Regions from separate parts of the Homo sapiens genome. Here all the other regions are linked to region 3. Evidence: promoter capture Hi-C in 16 types of primary human blood cells and fetal thymus (Javierre and others, 2016). All regions are on one chromosome and are shown on one strand. Each heading gives the region's core, a stretch centred on a gene start or on the middle of the fragment in contact. The rest is flanking DNA. Distances are from core to core; before and after follow the strand shown.

The links. Contacts are between HindIII fragments. The CHiCAGO score rates a contact against its expected background, and 5 or more counts as called.
Region 1: a contact is called between the fragment with the promoter of ZNF544 here and the fragment with the promoter of ZNF17 in region 3, in 2 of 17 cell types (total CD8 T cells and non-activated CD4 T cells). The highest score is 8.2, in total CD8 T cells.
Region 2: a contact is called between a fragment that was not itself captured here and the fragment with the promoter of ZNF17 in region 3, in 1 of 17 cell types (neutrophils). The highest score is 5.4, in neutrophils.
Region 4: a contact is called between a fragment that was not itself captured here and the fragment with the promoter of ZNF17 in region 3, in 2 of 17 cell types (total CD4 T cells and naive CD4 T cells). The highest score is 5.7, in total CD4 T cells.
Region 5: the fragment with the promoter of ZNF497 here is called in contact with the fragment with the promoter of ZNF17 in region 3 in 1 of 17 cell types (fetal thymus); the score reaches 6.1 in fetal thymus.
Region 6: a fragment that was not itself captured here is called in contact with the fragment with the promoter of ZNF17 in region 3 in 1 of 17 cell types (total CD4 T cells); the score reaches 6.4 in total CD4 T cells.
Region 7: the fragment with the promoter of ZNF135 here is called in contact with the fragment with the promoter of ZNF17 in region 3 in 7 of 17 cell types (total CD4 T cells, naive B cells, fetal thymus and 4 more); the score reaches 6.9 in total CD4 T cells.

Annotation. Positions count from the first base shown.
Region 1 is chr19:58,227,547-58,230,246 of GRCh38, forward strand. It overlaps ZNF544 (zinc finger protein 544), which reads left to right and starts at 1,368. Exons shown (of 7, transcript NM_014480.4): 1 at 1,368-1,400; 2 at 1,922-2,024. RefSeq lists an enhancer at 1,244-2,070. The HindIII fragment of the contact is 1,767 bases long and covers 266-2,032 here.
Region 2 is chr19:58,311,554-58,314,312 of GRCh38, forward strand. ERVK3-1 (endogenous retrovirus group K3 member 1) reads left to right here. Exons shown (of 4, transcript NM_001396080.1): 3 at 613-909. The coding sequence starts at 616. It overlaps ZNF8-ERVK3-1 (ZNF8-ERVK3-1 readthrough (NMD candidate)), which reads left to right. Exons shown (of 7, transcript NR_144447.1): 6 at 613-909. Among named protein-coding and RNA genes, the nearest start is that of ERVK3-1, 7.6 kb to the left of the region's middle. The HindIII fragment of the contact is 2,872 bases long and covers 1-2,748 here.
Region 3 is chr19:57,409,897-57,412,596 of GRCh38, forward strand. ZNF17 (zinc finger protein 17) reads left to right here and starts at 1,265. Exons shown (of 4, transcript NM_001330617.2): 1 at 1,265-1,510. RefSeq lists enhancers at 1,269-1,378, 1,459-1,518 and a silencer at 1,762-1,964. The HindIII fragment of the contact is 5,033 bases long and covers 1-2,439 here.
Region 4 is chr19:58,129,458-58,132,157 of GRCh38, forward strand. It overlaps ZNF329 (zinc finger protein 329), which reads right to left. Exons shown (of 4, transcript NM_024620.4): 4 at 1-54. The coding sequence starts at 46. Among named protein-coding and RNA genes, the nearest start is that of ZNF329, 20 kb to the right of the region's middle. The HindIII fragment of the contact is 2,632 bases long and covers 92-2,700 here.
Region 5 is chr19:58,361,447-58,364,146 of GRCh38, forward strand. It overlaps ZNF497 (zinc finger protein 497), which reads right to left and starts at 1,305. Exons shown (of 3, transcript NM_198458.3): 1 at 1,231-1,305. ZNF497-AS1 (ZNF497 antisense RNA 1) reads left to right here and starts at 1,180. Exons shown (of 3, transcript NR_136527.1): 1 at 1,180-1,306. It also overlaps the pseudogene RNA5SP473. RefSeq lists enhancers at 592-1,140, 870-999. The HindIII fragment of the contact is 6,825 bases long and covers 1-2,700 here.
Region 6 is chr19:58,102,576-58,105,275 of GRCh38, forward strand. It overlaps a transcript of ZSCAN18 not described here. Among named protein-coding and RNA genes, the nearest start is that of ZSCAN18, 5.7 kb to the left of the region's middle. The HindIII fragment of the contact is 167 bases long and covers 1,206-1,372 here.
Region 7 is chr19:58,057,878-58,060,620 of GRCh38, forward strand. ZNF135 (zinc finger protein 135) reads left to right here and starts at 1,405. Exons shown (of 5, transcript NM_001289401.2): 1 at 1,405-1,433; 2 at 2,092-2,158. The coding sequence starts at 2,126. The HindIII fragment of the contact is 3,956 bases long and covers 403-2,743 here.

The sequences.
Region 1 (2,700 bases), core at 118-2,617, 820 kb after region 3:
TTAGCCGGGCGTGGTGGCGGGCGCCTGTAGTCCCAGCTACTCGGGAGGCTGAGGCAGGAGAAAGGCGTGAACCCGGAAGGCGGAGAGTGCCGTGGGCCTAGATCGTACCACTGCACTCCAGCCTGGTGGACAGAGCGAGACTCCGTCTCACAAAAAAAAAAAAAAAAAAAAAAAAAAAAAAAGACTGAGGGAACCTTCCCAGGAAACCCCTAGCAGCCTTATTTCTCCTTGGCCAGAATATCCTTGCCTAATTCACACAGCAAGAAGCTTGAGTCCATTCTGATTAGCTTAGAATCCATCAAGATCCTCCCTTAGGGAGTTAGATTCTAGATTTCCCGGAAGAATCTAAAAATTGCAGGGTCGTGCTAGCCAGGTATGAAAATAAGCAAGTAAAAAGATGATGACTGTTGGGTAAAGCTATCGACAAGGTCAGCTACAAAACAGTCAAGCCAAGGAAGGCTAGTCACAGATGCACCCCAGACACAAAAGCACAGTCCAGGAGCTGAGGGTGCCTGAGCCACAGTGGTTCCCGCCTACCTGGCCTTCGTAGGAAAGTTTCCTGTGGTCTCCCTCATTGAAGAGCCAGGACGGGTCAGGCGGTGGTGGGTCTCAGACATTGAGCCCCACAACGCACTGAGACTGAACATCAGACCATTTATAATAACAGAACTCTGTCCCACAACTTCTGCAGCAATAGGTACAAAACAGAACTTGGTCACTGCCAGCCTCCCTATTTTTTTCCCTGTCCCACTTAGGAGCTACCACAGAAAGCCAAATAGGCTCGACTGAGCGATCACCTAGGACGAATCGCCTCCAGTTAGCGTGCTTCCACCTTCCACTCGGAATGCTCCAAGCAGGGCACTCCCGGGGCTTTGTTTCTATCACTAGGACGCGTCCCCACGCCCAGGCTGTCCCTGAGTCCCTGCCACAGGCGCAGATGTTGGCGGGCGCCCTTGCCCCTGAGCTCCCGGTTAACGGCCTTGGACTGTTCTCATGGCTCAGTCTTGGTCTCTCTCCCCAGCAGGGCAAGGCGCCGGGAAGGCACCCGAGATGACAGCGCCGAGCCCCATAGGCGCTAGTCCCGCCCTGGACGCCGACCGCCGCCTCCACAGTCTCGGCTTCGGTTGCTGGATGAGAACCAGCGTGGCCCGTTTAAGGGGGAGGGGACAGGCGCTGCAAGGAGCAGAGCCGCGGGAAGCAACTCCCTAAGCCACAATGCTAGTCGCGAACACAGGAAAAAGCTCATCCCGCCGCCGCGGGGCCCCATGCTCCCGCCGGCAATGACTATGCCTGTGGGAGCAACGGCTACCGGCGCGCGGCCTTCTGGGAGTTGTTTGTTGCGCGGAGCGCGGGCACGTCCGCCGGCCACCGGAAGCACCGCCATTGGCCGGTGCGTGCAGGTGAGTCTGGCGGCCTCAAGGTTGGCTCGGAGGTTTCACTGTTAGCCGGGTGCGGCCGGAGCGCAGGACCAGGCCAGAGCCGCCCCAAGTGATCTGGGCGTGCCGGAGAAACGAGCAGGGCCTGCGGGGGTCCCTCATGCGGCGAGGCCGAGCAAGGGCAGGGGCCTGATGGGATCGGGATCTCTCCGGCCTCAGGGACGGGGAAGGCCGGTCCAGTCAGGTTTCCCCTGCAGGAGCGCCCGGCTGGGTCTGAGCTTGTCGGGAGGCTCTCCTGCTGCAGAGCTGGGAGGGAACTTATAGTACCTCGCAGGTACGGGCAGGGGTGGAACTGGGTGGGACTGGGTGGGACTGGGTGGGACTGGGTGGGACTGGGTGGGCCCTCCCGACAGAGGGTGCCTGGGTCGAGGGCTGCAGGGGCGGGGGATTCAGGCTGGCGTCTGGAGCTCTGGGGCTGCCGACCCAGCGGGCCTCTCCCGGCTCCTTTTTCCTCCCTCAACTCATCTTCTGCGGCTTATCCACAGGTGGCAGCCAAGAGCCTCCTGGCACAGCGGCACCAGGCAGGTGACGCCTATTGGACCCCAGAGGTCATCCCAGCTCCAGACGTGGACACATTTTCTTCCAATGGTACGTGAAGCTTGAACCTTGCAGAGAACATGTGTATTTTCCAAGTGAACAGAAGATTAAGGCCAGTCCACGCAGGGCAGGGGTAACTGGGGTGTTGGGGGCCTGCACTGGTTAAGCGATGCTGGTGCACCCCATAGAGAGACTACAGAGGTGAACAGGATGGGATGTGTATGTAACGCCTGTAAGTTAGGGATCGGGGTTCCATTTGTGTTGGGTGATATTTGATGGGGACCGTACAAGGCAGTGCTAATGAGGAAGGCATGGGGTTGGATTTCAAGAGTCTAAGGGAGTAGGGAAACATCTGATTGTGGAAATGACTCCGTGTAAGGAGGGATGCCAAAAGACAGGAAGGAGTGGAGGAAGACTGTGTTTCTGTTTCCAGCGTGGAGCCAGGGTAGAAGTCACAGTGCAAGGAAGATGTGGTATGCCTGGTCAGTCTCTGCATGGGAGTTGAGGAGCATGTGGGTGACATGGCTGAATGTGGAGGAGGGAATGGCAGTGGCAGGAAGCCCAGGAGGTTTGGGCTGGACACGTAACCTGGAGCAGATTGGAAACGTCACCCCACAAGCAGGGAAGGAGAAAACTGGAAAAGGAAAGAGAAAGCAACTCCCTCCCCAGCCCTGCAGCCAGAGGGACTTCTGCCAGATCAGCCACCATACAGGTCCAGTATGAGGAA
Region 2 (2,759 bases), core at 63-2,562, 900 kb after region 3:
CTGTGGAAGGATGCAACCCACGAGGCTTGGCTCCAAATGAAATCTGGCAGATGGATGTTACATATATATAGCAGCCTTTGGCTAACTCCGCTATGTTCATGTAATATAGACACTTACTCCCATATGTTACATGCCACATGCCAAACTGGGGAAACAGCTGGTCATGTCTGACGATACTGTCTGTCGTCATTTGCCCATATGGGGGTCCCTAAACAATTTAAAACTGACAGTGGACTCGCTTATGTTAGTCATGCTTTCCCAATTTTTTACAATTGTGGGCAATCAATCATAAAACAGGAATTCCATACAATCCCTGAGGGCCAGGCATTATTGAGCGGGTACATCAAACACTACAACGCATGCTGAAAAAACAAAAAGGGAGAATAGGGGACCAATTACCACTTCAAACAAAATTACATTTAGCCTTGTTTACTTTAAATTGTTTGACTCCTGGTACGGATGGCAAGACCCCAGCAGAACGACACTGGCAACTGCTAGAGGAAAAGAGGCAAGTTTATCCAAAAGTGTTATGGAAATCCCCAGAAGAAGGACAATGGAAAGGTCCGGTGGATTTGCTGACGTGGGGACGAGGGTATGCTTGTGTTTTTACAGGAGATGGACAAACCGTGTGGGTGCCCTCCAGGTGTGTGTGACCATGGAACGGGAGACCGGAGGGATCCATGGTATTCAACCGTGGGCCTGTTACCTCCAGTACGAGCCATGAGCCAGCGGAATCTGAATGCAAAGACAGAACAAGGGCCGACCGGAGTCACAATGACATCCAACCCCATAACATGGGGACAGATCAAGAAAACGACACAAGAAGCTGAGAAACTACTGGAGCGCCAGGGTCAGGCAAAAACCCCTGACTCCATGTTCTTGGCCATGCTAGCTGTAGTGTCCTGTGCGGTATGTTTCCCCTGTGTAGAGGCAAAAACATATTGGGCATATGTTCCTAACCCACTGGTAGTACGACTGGTACTCTGGAGCGACACTCCTCCTGAGATATATTATGATCAGGGAGCGTGGGCACCAGGACCCCTAACTCCGTCTGACACAGAGCAATAGCATCAATTACACCGGCCCATTGGAAGGACTCCCTTTATGTATCACCATGGATACGTCACTCAACTGCAGCTGTCTTGCAGTCCAATCTCAGGCATGGTTAAGTCACCATGGAAAAATTATGTATTTATTAGGCCTCAGCTTTATTAATGTTACTGGCGTGTTCACCAATCACTCCTAGCCCCATCACTCAAATTGTATGGATTATATGGAATGGGCTCCCTTTGATATTTCTCACCCCCCTCCTTGGACCCAGTGTCTTGGCCCCTTGGCCAGACAACAGTCTATGTTAATGGGAAACATTGACTGGGGTCCCCGTGGCCATTTAGAGGGGAGAGATGAAAATCAGACCTCTTGGCACAAACTTCACTGGCACTGGTGGTGGACCTTCAACACCTCTTCATCACATCACACTGGGATTCAGTCCCCCAGTTGGCTGCACAACTTGCTTGGTATAGGACAGGCTTTAACCCGCCCTTACCTCAGTGACGTCATCTAGGAAACAGAGGCCCAATTCAGGAATCGATATGGAAGGCAACACTCCCATTTATGAATAACAGCATCTGGGTCAGAACATTATCCAACAATAGTAATATTACTCAACACAGTTTTAATATCACCTTTGTAAAAAATATTACCACTCAATTTACGGTTTGTGGGTTTTTTGTTGTTGTTGTTAACTGTTTGAGATGGAGTCTCACTCTGTCGCCCAGGCTGGAGTGCAGTGGCGCAATCTCGGGTCACTGCAACCTTTGCCTCCCGGGTTCAAGCAATTGTCTGCCTCAGCCTCCCGAGTAGCTGGGATTACAGGCACCCGCCACCGTGCCAGGCTATTTTTTGTTTTTTGTATTTTTAATAGAAACGGGATTTCACCTTCTTGGCCAGGCTGCTCTTGAATTCCTGACCTCGTGATCCACCCGCCTTGGCTTCCCAAAGTGCTGGGATTACAGGCGTGAGCCACCATGCCCGGCCAGTTTGTGTTTTTAATCCCTATGTTTTTCTAGCATCTAAGAAGGACCAACTCCACGTAAACATCACCCAGTTGACTTGTGACTCTTGTCAACTGTATCACTGCCTCAATCATAGCACAATACAAACACACAACATATCCACTCTAATAATTCTGGGTCGTATCCCTGGATTATGGATCCCTGTCAATTTGTGCAAACCTTGGGCTGCCACCCCTGCTTTACATTTTGTAAAACTCCTTCTTACCCAGCTCACTCATCGTGCACGTAAAGCCTTAAACATAGTAATTTTTACTGTAATCTCCTTAGTCACACTAATAACCTCGGTTGTAGTGTCCTCAGTAGCACTACATAGTTCTATTCAAACAGCCCAATATGTAGAAAATTGGACATGTACAGCCAACCAGGCATGGATGCTTCAAAATAAAATTAATACCGAATTACAAACAAAGGTAGCAATGTTAAAGGCTACTGTTCTGTGGCTGGGAAAGCAGGTACAAAGTTTGCAATTGTAGCAGCAATTGCACTGTCATTTCAATCATATTCATATTTGTGTGACCAATTTGGAATAGAACCAAAGTGAATATCCATGGAACCTTGTAAAAGCTCATTTGCAGGGAGCTTTTACATCCAATATTACTTTTGATATCAGTAACTTACAGAGTAAAATTCTTAACTTGAATAAGCAAACTCAAAAATAACAGCCCTTTTTAGAAGCTTAAACAG
Region 3 (2,700 bases), core at 15-2,514:
TTACGTGTCTTAGAGGACCACAGACAGCTAGCAACCCTACTCCTAATGTGTCCCATGCACTTAGTATTGTACCTGGCATCGAATGAGTGTTCATCAAATATGTTAGAGTAATAAATACGACAGCACAGTTTCCCTATTCAGCTTTACTTTTCTGGTAACTCTTTTAATATATAGTCTTTACCTCTCCCTTCAAGCTGTTAATGCACAATGTTTTCAAGTTTGAAAAAGAATCAGATTTTGGACACCAAACTTGAGTGTGTCCAAGGTTCCAGGACAACCTTAGCTTTTTTCCTCCTATCACAAATATGTTTCTCTATAACTATTTTTGCCACTTTCTTTGGATATCTACATAATCGTCATTAATAGTTTCAGTAATAGCCATTTCACAAGAGTTATTCAGAGACAATTTCAACTCCCTGTGCAGACACTGTTGATACAATTTCAGGCGAAATGATAAATCACTTTCCACTAATGAGATGAGATCATGCATTCCCAAACCTTTATCTCAGGAGTAAGATGCTTTCTTTGCACAAGGGCTTTGACTGGTGGAAGGCCACACTATTCTGGCAGATAATGGTAGATAAGTCGCTTTTCCTTTTCAGTTAGGTTTCAGTCTCTTAAAATAAGTGGAAAATATCTCAGATATAAAGTAATAAGTATCATGTGAATAAAGTGTTGCTGGGTAGGCTGAAAGACAATAACTGATTATTCAGAAAGGAAAGATATTACTCCTCAAACTCCCCATCATGCCATGTCTGGGTCTTTTCAATGTGCCCAGCAGAGCACATTGAAGATCATAAAACAGTCTCCAGAGCTTCGTTCTGTGTGTATTTGGCAAGCACAAAAGAGCTGACCGCTATGCGTGGAAGACCAGTTCTTTATGGTTGGCCATGTTCCTTCGGATGTTCGTCTTTTGGGAACTTGCTGTGCTTTACAGAATCTGAAAGGACAGGTCTCTGAAACATTTCTCTGACTTGTTCTAGACTGCCTTCCGGGAAAATCTGGATGCTTGCCGTTTAAAAGCCAATGAAGCCCCTCCACGTCCTTGGAGCCCCGCAACTGCATTTCTCAAAGCCTCAGGAGGATCCTCCTGGCTTTCATCCTGAACGCGAGTTAACTTAAGTTCAGAAGCGGGGCAGGCAGTGGCCTGGGAACTACATTACCCAAAAGACACAGCGGCGGACACAAGCAGCGAGTGTAGCCAATGAAGGCCTAGCAGAGCGGCGTCTACGGGGGTTCGCAATGCGTGTGGGCGGGACTTCCTGCAACGCCTCCTGGGGTTGTCAATATGGCTGCGTTGGGATCTGTTCACCTTCAGGCTGAGTCGAGACTGAGGTGAAAAAGCGGAAAAACGCGAGAAAAGGTTTCCCCGTTGTACAGAGGCTAGAGTGAGGCTCGGTTGAATCGGTTGCAGGCGTTGGTGCCTCTGTCAGCGTCCAGGTCACTGCCGCTCCCGCCCCGCTCTTCCCTGGCTGTGCTGGCGGAGGCTGCGCCGATGAACCTGACTGAGGTGGGTGCCGCGTCCCAGGGCGCCCCGCCCGATCCCTCCTCCGAGTGCCGAAGCCCCGAGGAGGGGCCCTGCAGGTCAGGCCCCTGTGTCCCAAAGAGAGGAGCGTTCTTGTGTGGGGTACCGGTGTCCGCGGTGCTGTGAGGCGGGGGAGCTCCTGTCAGGGACCTGCACGTGCGAGGCTTAGAGGTGCTGCAGAGCGGGCGGCACTGGGGAGCCCGAGCGTCTTTGTCTCCACGGAGCTGAGGGTGAGGCGGAGTCTCGCCTGGGAGGGCAGCGGAGCTGCTGAAAGCCGTAGAAGGCTGTGCAGGAAGGGTTATGCCCAGAGGTAGACGTTTAAAGTTGGGAAAAACAGGATGTTAAACCAGGACAAGGGGACCGCTGAGGAGACCCCTTGAGTTATGGTAGGGATGGGCCAGAGGGGTTGCAGTAGAGGGGAAGTGTGATGAGATTCTGGATGGATCTCAGAGATAGAGTCGACAGGATTTCCTGCTGCATCAAATGTAGCAGTGAGGGTAGTGAAGGGTCTATTCCATGGATTTTGTTTTGGCCTGAAAATCTGAAAGAATGGAGTTGGAGAAGTCAGCTTAGGGAGCAGGTTTCAGAGAGGATTATGAGTTGCATTTTGGAGGGCTGAGTTTTGGAGGGCAGATCATGGGTGGGTCCATAAGCCTGACGCTACCTTTAGAAAGGCGCAGACCTGTCATAGGAGGGATTCTGGCTCATATCTGCAAAAACGGAGTTCTGAATGGGTTAAGGAACTGGCCTAGGCTGGAGACTGAGGTGTGAGGTGGTTTAGATTTCTGCACCTGCAGACCCAGCAGCCCCCCAGGCCCACTCTGTGGAACAATAGGAAGGTCATCCAGACTAGTGGGGACATTGGGTCCAGACGGGGGTAGGGCTTTCTCACATCTAGTCAAGGGCCTCCAGCAAGCTTCCAGCAACTGAATTTGTAGCAGGCAGGCCTGGTTGCTGATGGGACCAGTAACTGACCTGCTTGCTTATCCCCTCCCTGCAACTTATTTATTTATGAATGTGTAAAACATTTTTTTTTTTTTTGAGACAGAGTCTCGCTCCATCGCCCAGGTTGGAGTGCAGTGGCGCGATCTCGGCTCACTGCAAGCTCCGCCTCCCGAGTTCAAGCAATTCTCCTGCCTCAGCCTCCCGAGTAGCTGGGACTACAAGTGCCCGCC
Region 4 (2,700 bases), core at 158-2,657, 720 kb after region 3:
GTACTTCTCTCTCAGGAAAATTCCGAGTCGTCATTTTCAATCTCATATCCCAAACTGCAAAAAGAAGAAAAATGCAGACTTAGGTATATGAAGCTTTATCTGTAAGAGAAACAGACAATGATGATGGGCTAGGTGTAAAGATGTGTATTTTTTTACTTGTTTTCTCTTTTAAATTCAAATTTATACAAGGAAGAGGTAAAATCGTAGCCAAGGAATGGAACCAAGAACAGATTCAAAAAGAGCCATGTAGCATTTTCATCTTCCTAGAGAGCAGGCAGGAGGAATGGACCTCGGGATAAATCATCACCAAAAGGATTAGTTTGAGATGTGAGAGACCAGAGGCCAAGCATCCCTGCTCCCCCTAGAATTCCATCCCAGCCACTGCATTCTTGTCCCTGTCACACACTGCCCATCAGTACACATTTCCAAAGCTCTGACTTCACAATGAGCTTACAACAGCACTGAAGGAACAGTTCTCACCCCAGCTCTGTCATCAAAGTTCTGCATTCATGGATAGGACAAAGCACAGGCTTGGTGACCTAAAAGTTCTGGGTCTAAGTCTTAGAACTGTCAATGACCTGGCGGGGCACAGTGGTTCACTCCTGTAATCCCAGCACTTTGGGAAGTGGAGGCAGGTGGATCATTTGAAGTCAGGAGTTCAAGACCAGCCTGACCAACATGGTGAAACACCGTCTCTACTAAAAATACAAAAAAAATCAGCCAGGCGTGGTGGCACATGCCTGTAGTCCCAGCTACTCTGGAGGCTGAGGCAGGAGAATCACTTCAACCTGGTAGGCAGAGGTTGCAGTGAGCTGAGATCACACCACTGCACTCCAGCCTACGCGGCAGAGTGAGACTCCATCTCAAAAAACAAAACAAAACAAAAACTGTCAAAGACTGCCCTGCATGGTTGTTATAAAAACTGGATCATGTCGGCCAGGCGCGGTGGTCACGCCTGTAATCCCAGCACTTTGGGAGGCCGAGGTGGGCAGATCACAAGGTCAGGAGATTGAGACCATCCTGGCTAACGTGGTGAAACCCCGTCTCTACTAAAAAAATACAAACAATTAGCCAGGCGTGGTGGCGGGCGCCTGTAGTCCCAGCTACTCGGGAGGCTGAGGCAGGAGAATGGCGCGAACCCGGGAGGCGGAGCTTGCAGTGAGCCAAGATCGTGCCACTGCACTCCAGCCTGGGCCACAGAGCAAGACTCCGTCTCAAAAAAAAAAAAAAAAAAAAACTGGATCATGTACAAAGCAGTCTCCAAGGCTAGGGGATGAAGGGCATTCTGTAAATGGTTGCATGTGTCTTCATGCATATCAATCTTCCTGTCACCATCCTTGTCCATTCAGACTTCACAATATTAAGACAACTGGTTGTCCATTCATTCGTTCATTCATTTGGTGGGATCGGGTCTCGCTCTGTCATTCAGGCTGAAGTGCAGTGGTGTGATCTTGGTTCACTGAAGCCTCAATCTCAAAAACTTCAAGCAATTATCCCACCTCAGCCTCCCAAAATGCTGCAAATACAGGGATGAGCCATTGTGCCCAGCCTTCTTTCTATTTTTTAAGGTAAAATGAAAATAGACCCTTGCCTCAGAATACATACATACATATATGTCTACATTCTAGGCAATTTAAATATATATACATGTATATGTGTATATGTGTGTGTGTGTGTGTGTGTGCGCGTGTATTTACATTTCAGAAGGATACAGGCTGCAACATAAAGTCAAAGTTTAAATAATGTAGTATGCCTTCATAAGTGTGGCAGACTTTGATCAACAAAACTTAACCAAAAAACCATATGGCCAAGCATTGGGGGTCATGCCTGTAATCCCAGCACTCTGGGAGGCTGAAGTGGGAGTTATCACTTGAGCCCACACAGAAGGCTGAGGCTGCAGTGAGCTGTAATTGTGCCACTGCATTCCAGATTGGGCAAAAGAGACCATGTCTTAAAAACAAAAAACAAAAACCAAAAAATAAAAAACAGACAAGGATTAAGAAGTCTGATATCAGCATTCAAATTTTCCATCCAATAAAAGACACAATAAGAGACAAAATGCAAGTGGCAGATAGGGAGAAAATAGGACTTAAAAGCACAAAGAATTATTGCCCAAGAGCTATAGAGGATTCTTACAGAGAGAAAATAAGATTTAAAAGCACAAAGAATTACTGCCCAAGAACTACAGAGGATTCTTACAGAACAGCACATAAAAAGAAAAAAAATGGGCAAAGTAATCAAAGAGCACTTCGTGAAGGGAAAATAGAAATGTCCTGAAAACATTGGCTGGGAGCAGTGGGTCACGCCTGTAATCCCAGCACTTTGGGAGGCTGAGGCAGGTGGACCACAAGGTCAGGAGATCGAGACCATCCTGGCTGACACGGTGAAACCCCGTCTCTATTAAAAATACAAAAAATTAGCCAGGCGTGGTGGCGGGCGCCTGTAGTCCCAGCTACTTGGGAGGCTGAGGCAGGAGAATGGCATGAACCCGGGAGGCAGAGCTTGCAGTGAGCCGCGATAGCGCCACTGCACTCCAGCCTGGGCAACAGGGCGAGACTCTGCCTCAAAAAAAAAAAAAAAAGAAAGAAAAAAAAGAAATGTCCTGAAAACATCAATATTTATTTTCTCATTCTATCATTCAGGCAATTCCAAACTGCGACTTTAAGAACACAAAATATACACATTTCACGTGAGTAAAAA
Region 5 (2,700 bases), core at 55-2,554, 950 kb after region 3:
CCTGGGTACAAGCGATTCTCCTGCCTGAGACTCCCGAGTAGCTGGGATTACAGGCACCAGCCTCCACACCCGCCTAATTTTTGTGTTTTCAGTACAGATGGGGTTTCACCATGTTGCTCAGGCTGGTCTTTAACTCCTGAGCTCAAGGGATCCACCCGCCTTGGCCTCCCAAAGTGCTGGGATTACAGACATGAGCCACCGCACCTGGCCTCTAGTTTTTCAAGATGCCACCTTTAGGGGAATTGGGTAAAGCGTACATAGGGTATGCATTACTTGTTACTGCATGTGAATTTATAATTACCTCAAATCAAAAGTTAAATTTTAAAAAAACGACATCTGATTTCAATAAAAATCCATATTTGTGTATTGAAGTATCAGAAATCCGGGTCCCCCAAGGGCCCATGTTTCTTAAGGCGGAGCCAGGCACCGCTGCCCCTCCATCCTGTGGTGTGCGACCCCGACCCGCCAGCCCCCAGCCGCATCTATCAGGGCTGCCGTCCTGAGTCCGTCCTCGTCGTGGGATAGCATGTGAGCCCCGTAAGGTCCTTCCTGTCGGCCTCACTGCTCCAGCCTCCCCGACGTCCTCACGTCCACGCTGCGTGCCCTTTCTGAGCCTCAACGCCTCCTCCTCACCTCGACATGATCAGAGCCACCTCCCGCGTCAGTCCCAGCGCCCACGCCCCCAACAACGGGCACTTGTCCGACCAGTCACGGGTACTTGTGTCTCCCCCACAACCCCCAAGGCCTAGGCTGGACAAACAAATACGGAGTGGATAAAGGGGAGGAAGCTGCGGCCAGGTGGCGCGAGGCCTGTGCGGGCAGCTCCGGAGGCTGGGAGGCGAGCCCAGCCTGGTGAGCTCCGAAACTACCCGGGGCTGGGGACTGATGAACGAATAAATGAATGTGGGAAGAAATGATGGCGCGGCAGGGCATGAGTGAATGAGTGAAAGAATAAACGAGCAGGAGGAACGATGCCACAGAACTGATCGCCATAAGGCTCGCGTTCACCGAGAGAACAGCAAACGGGAGCCATTTCCGTCCCGACCACGGTCGCCTCTGGCCCGTGCAGGGCCACTTCCGGGCCGCTCTGGACGGCGCGGAGGCCTATCTCTCGGTGGTCCCAGAGGGCCCAGCTCAGGGCCGAGGCCCGTCCTGCCCCGCGCGGCGGGAGTGGTTGGAGCCGGAGGGCGGATCTGTGCCTGGCCGAGGGTGTCCGTCGGCGTCACTCACCGTCCTCGGCCCGCCTCTGCGTCCACTAGGAGCGGCCTGAAAGAGGCCCGCACGCGGGCTCGAGCCGCGTGGAATGGTAGGAGGGCGGGCACCGGGTCTCCTGGGGGCGCGGTTGCATTCGGCAGAGCGGCCCAAGGCGTCGCGTTTCTCCCCACTGCGCCTGCGTAACTATGCCGCGGCTGCGGGCGCGCGCCTTCTGGTTCCCATGGGGACGGCGCCACAGCCAAGCTACTCGGGCGTCCTGCGTTGCCATGGATGCGCTCCGCCCCTTCCTGCACCCGGCCAGCCTCTGCGGCACACACCCAACAGCTACACAGGCGCCTGGGGCTGCCCGGGTCGCGGACGCAAGTCGGGCCAACGTAGCTTCTCCCTGGCGGTCCTCCTCCGGCCCCAGGCCGTCTTTACCACCCTGGAACCTTGCTGAGTTGACGCCACTGAGCTGCGTCTCACACCCACGCGCTGTGGAACACCCACCAAGCTGGAATCCACGCGGTTTTTAAAATAGAGTCGGGGGCCGGGCGCGGTGACTCACGCCTGTAATCCCAGCACTTTGGGAGGTCGAGGCGGGCGGATCACGAGGTCAGGAGATCGAGACCATCCTGGCTAACACGGAGAAACCCCGTCTCTACTAAAAATACAAAAAATTAGCCGGGCGTGGTGGCGGGCGCCTGTAGTCCCAGCTACTCGGGAGGCTGAGGCAGGAGAATCGCTTGAACCTGGGAGGCGGAGCTTGCAGTGAGCCGAGATCGCGACACTGCACTCCAGCCTGGGGCGACAGAACGAGACTCCGTCTCAAAAAAAAAAAAAAAAAATTGAGTCGGGATCTCAGAAGCTAAGCAGGGTCGGGCCTGGTTAGTACTTGGGAGACCGTCTGGGAACACCGAGTGCTGTTGGCTAAAATAAATAAATAAACCGGGCGCGGTGGCTCACGCCTGTAATCCCAGAACTTTGGGAGGCCGAGGCGGGCAGATCACGAGGTCAGGAGTTCGAGACCAGCCTGACCAACATGGTGAAACCCCGTCTCTACTGAAAATACAAAAATTAGGCTTGTTGGCGTGTGCCTATAATCCCAGCTACTCGGGAGGCTGAGGCAGGAGAATCGCTTGAACCGGGGAGGCAGAAGTTACAGTGAGCTGAGGTCGTGCCACTGCACACTCCAGCCTGGGTGACAGAGCAAGACTCCGTCTCAAAAAACAACATAGACCAGATGCTGTAAGCTAAAATAAATGAATAGCTAGAGACGGGGTCTCGCTATATGGCCCAGGCTGGTCTTGAACTTCTGGGCTCAAGTGATCCTCCCACCTTGGCCTCCCAAAGTGCTAGGATTACAGACCCGAGCCACTGCACCCGGCCTCCACGAGCTCTTTTTGTACCAATTTTTCCCAATTTGTACTAGGGAGCTCTCACCTCAGCCCAGGTGGTTTGGGCAGGTGTGGGTACATGGCCCAGGTCCACAGCACAGGGCAGTCC
Region 6 (2,700 bases), core at 39-2,538, 690 kb after region 3:
ACAGGCTATAAGAAAGAAGGCAGGTAACAATGATTATTCAGCAAGGTAGGAAGGACTACAATGGCACACAGACTTGCCATTTTGTACTGCATCGGATATGTCAATGTTAATTGTCATCTCAGCAACAAGATTTTTTCCTTGAGAGTTGTATTTCTCCTCAAATGGACTCTCACTAGTCATTCAATTCCTCCTTCTGATATTACTCTTATTTCATTGATTCCAAGATAACAGATGGTAACATGTACATTTTATGTGCTAATAAAAGGCTGCCTGAGGCCTAGCACAGTGCCTCACACCTGTAATCTCAGCACTTTGGGAGGCCGAGGTGGGTGGACCACCTGAGGTCAGGAGTTCAAGACCAGCCTGGCAAAACCTCGTCTCTACTACAATACAGAAATTAGCTGGGTGTGGTGGTGTGCACCTCTAATCTCAGCTACTTGGGAGGCCGAGGCAGCAGAATCGCTTGAACCTGGCAGGTGGAGGCTACAGTGAGCCAAGATAGCACCACTGTACTCCAGCCTGGGTGACACAGCGAGACTCTCTCTAAAAAAAAATAAAAAAATAAAAAAAGGCTGCCAATTAAACCATATCACTGATTAACCTGGTTTGTTTTCAGATGTTAAAATATGGCAAGATATGTATCACAGAATAAAGGAAATACGGTAAGTCTTTAGGTTCTGTGTCACGACTAACTTCCAGATATAGGCATTACCTTGTTTTCTTGCACTTTGCTTAATTATCCTATGCAGATATTGCATTTTTTACAAGTTGAAGGTTTGTGGCAACCTGTGTCAATTAAGTCTATTGTCACCATTTATCAAACAGCATATGCTCTCTGTGTCTCTGTGTCACATTTTGGTAATTCTCACAATACTTCAAACTATTGCATTATTATTATCTGTTATGGTGATCTGTGATCAGTAATTTTTGTTGTAACTATTGTAATTGTTCTGGAGTGAAAGGAACCACGCCTATATAAGACAATGAACTCAGCAGATAAATGTTGTGTGTCCTGATTCCTCCACCAACCTGCCATTGCTCGCTGGTACGCACTCTCTCTCAATCTCTTTCCTCAGGCCTCCCTATTCCCTGAGACAAAACAATATTGAACTTAGGCCAGTTAATAACCCTACAATGGCCACTAAGTGTTCAAGTGAAAGGCAGAGTCAGACCTCTAACTTCAAATCAAAAGCTAGAAATGATTAAGCTTAGTAAGGAAGGCGTGTCAAAGACAGGCCAAAACTTAGCCCTCTTGTGCCAAACAGCCAAATTGTGATGGCCAAGAGAAAAACTTGAGGGAAATGAAAAGTGTGACTCCAGTGAATATGTGAATGACAAGAAACTGAAACAGCCTTGTCGCCAATAGGGAGAAAGCTTTAATGGTCTGGATAGGAGATCAAACTACCCAAAGAGAACTAACATTCTCTTAAGCCAAAGCCTAATCCAGAGCAAGGTCCTGACTCTCTTCATTTCTATGAAGGCTGTGAGAGGCGAGGAAGATGCAGAAGAAAATTCTGAGCCGGCCAGGCACAGTGGCTCATGCCTGTAATCCCAACACTTTGGGAGGCCAAGCGGGATGGATCACCTGAGGTCAGCAGTTCAAGACCAGCTTAGCCAACATGGTGAAACCCCACCTCTACTAAAAATACAAAAATTAGCTGGGCATGGTGGCGTGCGCCTGTAGTCCCAGCTACTCAGGAGTCTGAGGCAGGAGAATTGCTTGAACCTGGGAGGCGAAGGTTGCAGTGAGCTGAGATCGTGCCACTGCACTCCAGCCTGGGCAACAGAGTGAGGCTGTCTCAAAAACAAAACAAAACAAAACAAAACAAAAAAAAAGTCTGGGCCGGGTGTGGTGGCTCATGCCTGTAATACCAGCACTTTGGGAGGCAGAGATGGGCAGATCACCTGAGGTCAGGAGTTTGAGAACAGCTTGGTCAACGTGGCGAAACCCCATCTCTGCTAAAAATACAAAAAAAATTAGCCAGGCATGGTGGCAAGTGCCTGTAATCCCTGCTACTCAAGAGGCTGAGGCATGAGAATTGCTTGAACCCAGGTGGCAGAGGTTGGCAGTGAGCCGAGATCATGCCACTGCACACTAGCCTAGGCAAAAGAGTGAGACTCCATCTCAATAAAATAAAATAAAATAAAATAAAATAAAATAAAATAAAATAAAAAAGTCTGAAGCTAGCAGAGGTTGGTTCATGAAGTTTAAGTCATCTCCGTAACATAAAAGTGCAAGGTGAAGCAGCAAGTGCTAATGCAGAAGCTGCAGCAAGTTCTCCAGATTTAGCTAAGATCACTGAGGAAGGTCGCTACAGTAGACAACAGTTTAAATGTAAAGAAAACAGCCTTCTGTTGGAAGAAATGCCAGGTAGTGTTTTCACAACTAGAAAGAAGTCAGTGCCTAGCTTCAAAGCTTTAAAGAACAGGCCGACTCTTGTTAAGGGCTAATGCAACTGGTGACTTTAAGTTGAAACCAAAGCTCATTTACCATTCTGAAAACCCTAGGGCCTTAAGATTTAAGTTAAATCTACTCTGAGTGCTGTCTATAAATGTAAACAAAGCCTGGATGACAGTACGTGTTTACAGTATGGTGTACTGAATATTTTAAACCCACTGTTGAGAGACTTCCTCCTGAGAAAAAAAGATTCAAATTATGGCTGCTCACTGACAAGAGCTCTGATGAAGACATAGAAGGAA
Region 7 (2,743 bases), core at 155-2,654, 650 kb after region 3:
AGGGGCAAGTTTGAGGGAGCTGGGCAGGGCCGCCTGGCCACCATCAGGGCTGAGCAGGCTCAGTGTGGCACCACTGACAGCTTCTCACCAGGACTATCAGACCGCTTGGGAAAAAGACTTCACCATGAGTTGTGTGTTCATACCTTTTGATCCAGTAAAAGGAAACGGTTGGGGGTGGGGGTGGGGGGCAAGAGTATACATTTTGTGAAAGAAAAAATACACAAAAAGATGTTTTGTGGCATTTGGGTTTGTGAGTTCGAGAACTGAAAAACGGCATTTTATGTATAATGGAAAGCCTCTTTACTGCTGTAGAGTGAAAAGCAGGCTGGCTTTCAGTGCGACGGTCACAAATGTGGGGCTTTACAGTACTTGGAATGTACAGGACGCCCTTAAAAGCCAAGAAGCTTGCCTTTGCTTTGTTTACATCAGTGCATTATGATTTTGAGCCATTATATCTCTTCATAATTGCCACTGTTTTAGGGCTTATGAAATTTAAAGTCTTAACTTGTGTGTTAACCAGCCAAATCTTTGCAAGTGTCTGTGTGTGGTACGAGAATTCGTATTGTGTTCTCTGCTGTTTTCAGAGTTGTTTCAGTCAAAGAAAAAAAAATGCCCGTCTTAAAACTTTTCCTCTGCTTCAAATACAGCTCCCAAGCCCAGGCTGATTGGAATTAATCTGTCCTCCCTTAAAAGGGCAAAAGCACAAGGCTCAGCCCTGGCTTTCCCAGCTCCTCTGGTCTCGCTGCTCCACGGACGTGTGACGTACGCTGGTGAAACGAAGCCCGCTTGAATGGGGGCTTCACTATTGTGTGCTGCTGAACCTAGGCCTAGCGCCTGGCAGGCTTTGGTGAATGTTCAGAAAATGACAATTCATTTCGTGTCAGCGAGGGCACACCAGCTTTGAATATTTTGCTGCTGTTCAAATGCACAATTTTGACAATTACCTAGCAATGTCCAAAGTCGTCATAATTGTTAGTGTCTTGCACGTGATGTTCCTTATAACCATGTAATAAATACAGTGTGAAGTCTCCATGGCTGCCTCAGTGTGGAAAATGCAAAGACTCCCGTGTGTGCGATCTTGGTGAATGTTTTGGTTGAAAGTATGTGTTTTGAAAAAATCATTGCTTTGTTTGCAGCAGTAAAACTGACGGTAGAGTTTCCAACACGAAAGCCCGTGTGGTCGCGCCGGGAGCTCACGGCGTTCCAAGCGGCACTTATCCCGCGTTGATGCCCAGGCACCCCGCGCGCCCTGTTTCACCAGGCCCAGTCACTCCAGCTCCAGCAGCACTGAGAGCTCACGAACGCCAAGGGCGAGAGCGAGGTGGGGGAGGGCGGCCGGAAATGCGCGCGCGGCTCTCTGGGAAATGGAGTTAGGCTCGCGCCGGCGCAGTGTCGGCTGCCGGTGCCGCGGCCTTTGTCTCGCAGTCAGGAGGGTGAGCTAGGCCGGCGAGGAGGGGGAGGGGAGGCCAGGCCGGGCCGGGCCGGGCCGGGTGCGGGGGGTCCGGGGATCTTCCTGAGGCCCTGGCGGGGCGAGTTTCCAGCAGCGCGCGTCTGTGTGGAGTCCGTTTTGCTGCCCGGGGCCTGGGGAAGGCCGTTTCGGGGCTGGCGGGGGCAGGCTTTGCGGGGCATCCCTAGTCTGAGAGGAGGGCGGGGCCCAACGCCCAGCTGGACAGGAGCTGCTCCGACGGCCCCTGAGGGAACGCGCGCCCCGCCCCTGGCCCCACCTCTGCCCCACACCGGGCACTGGGCCGCCACCTTTGTTGATGGAAGAGAGAAACTGAGGCATAGTGCCCAGGGCCAGGGGACCGCAACCACCCGGCCCTTGTCACTGTAGCGTTAAGGCTCAGAGTCTGCGCAGCAGATATGTGTCCGCACCCGCCAGGCCTTCAGCTTCCCTCAGACAGGCGGGAAAACCCTAGGCTGCCCTTCTCCGAGCGGAGGGCCGCCCCACACACAGCAGGCGCTTAAACGGGTACGCGGGGCCCTGGACGGCTCTCCGCGGAGCTCCCCAGGCTCTGGCGCAGTTCCCCGGCTTGGGGACCTGAGCACCGCCTCTGCCTGCCCCAGCTGCTCACCTCCCCTTTCCCACAGAGCAGGGCCAGCCGTTCCTGCCAGAAGCCAGGGCATGACCCCTGGGGTGCGCGTCTCCACAGACCCGGTGAGAATCTCGGCCTCCTTGCGCGTGTCCTCCACCTCGTGCCCGGCCTCCTCGCGCGCGGCCTTCTCACGCCCGGCCTCCTCTTTGCACCCCGTCCCTACTCGCGCTCAGCCTCCTCCTTGTGCCCGGCCCCTACTTGCGTGCCCGGCCCCTACTCGTGCCCGGCCTCTACTCGCACAACTGGCCTCTACTCGCGCACCTGGCCTCTACTGGTGCCCGGCCTCTACTCGTGCCCGGCCTCTATTTGCACATCTAGCCTCTACTCGTGTCCGGCCTCTACCTGCACACCCGGCCTCCTAAAGTCCGCGCCAAGCTCCCCAACCACAGCCTGCCTCTGAAAGGACCGCCCACGCCGCGCTGGAGGTCAGCGGGCACGGGTCCCTGTCTGAGTGGGCTTTATGTTTGTGCGGCCGTCATTGCATACCTGAGGCTGGGTGATGTCAGAAAATTGTAGGTGCCCCGGCTCTGCAGTCTGAAGTTGAAGGCCTTAGCATGCTCTGCGCTCCAAGATGGCGCATCGAGTGCCGCTTCCTCAGACGTCATGGAGGCCAAGGGGGCGGAACTCGCCTTTTTATGATGACATTA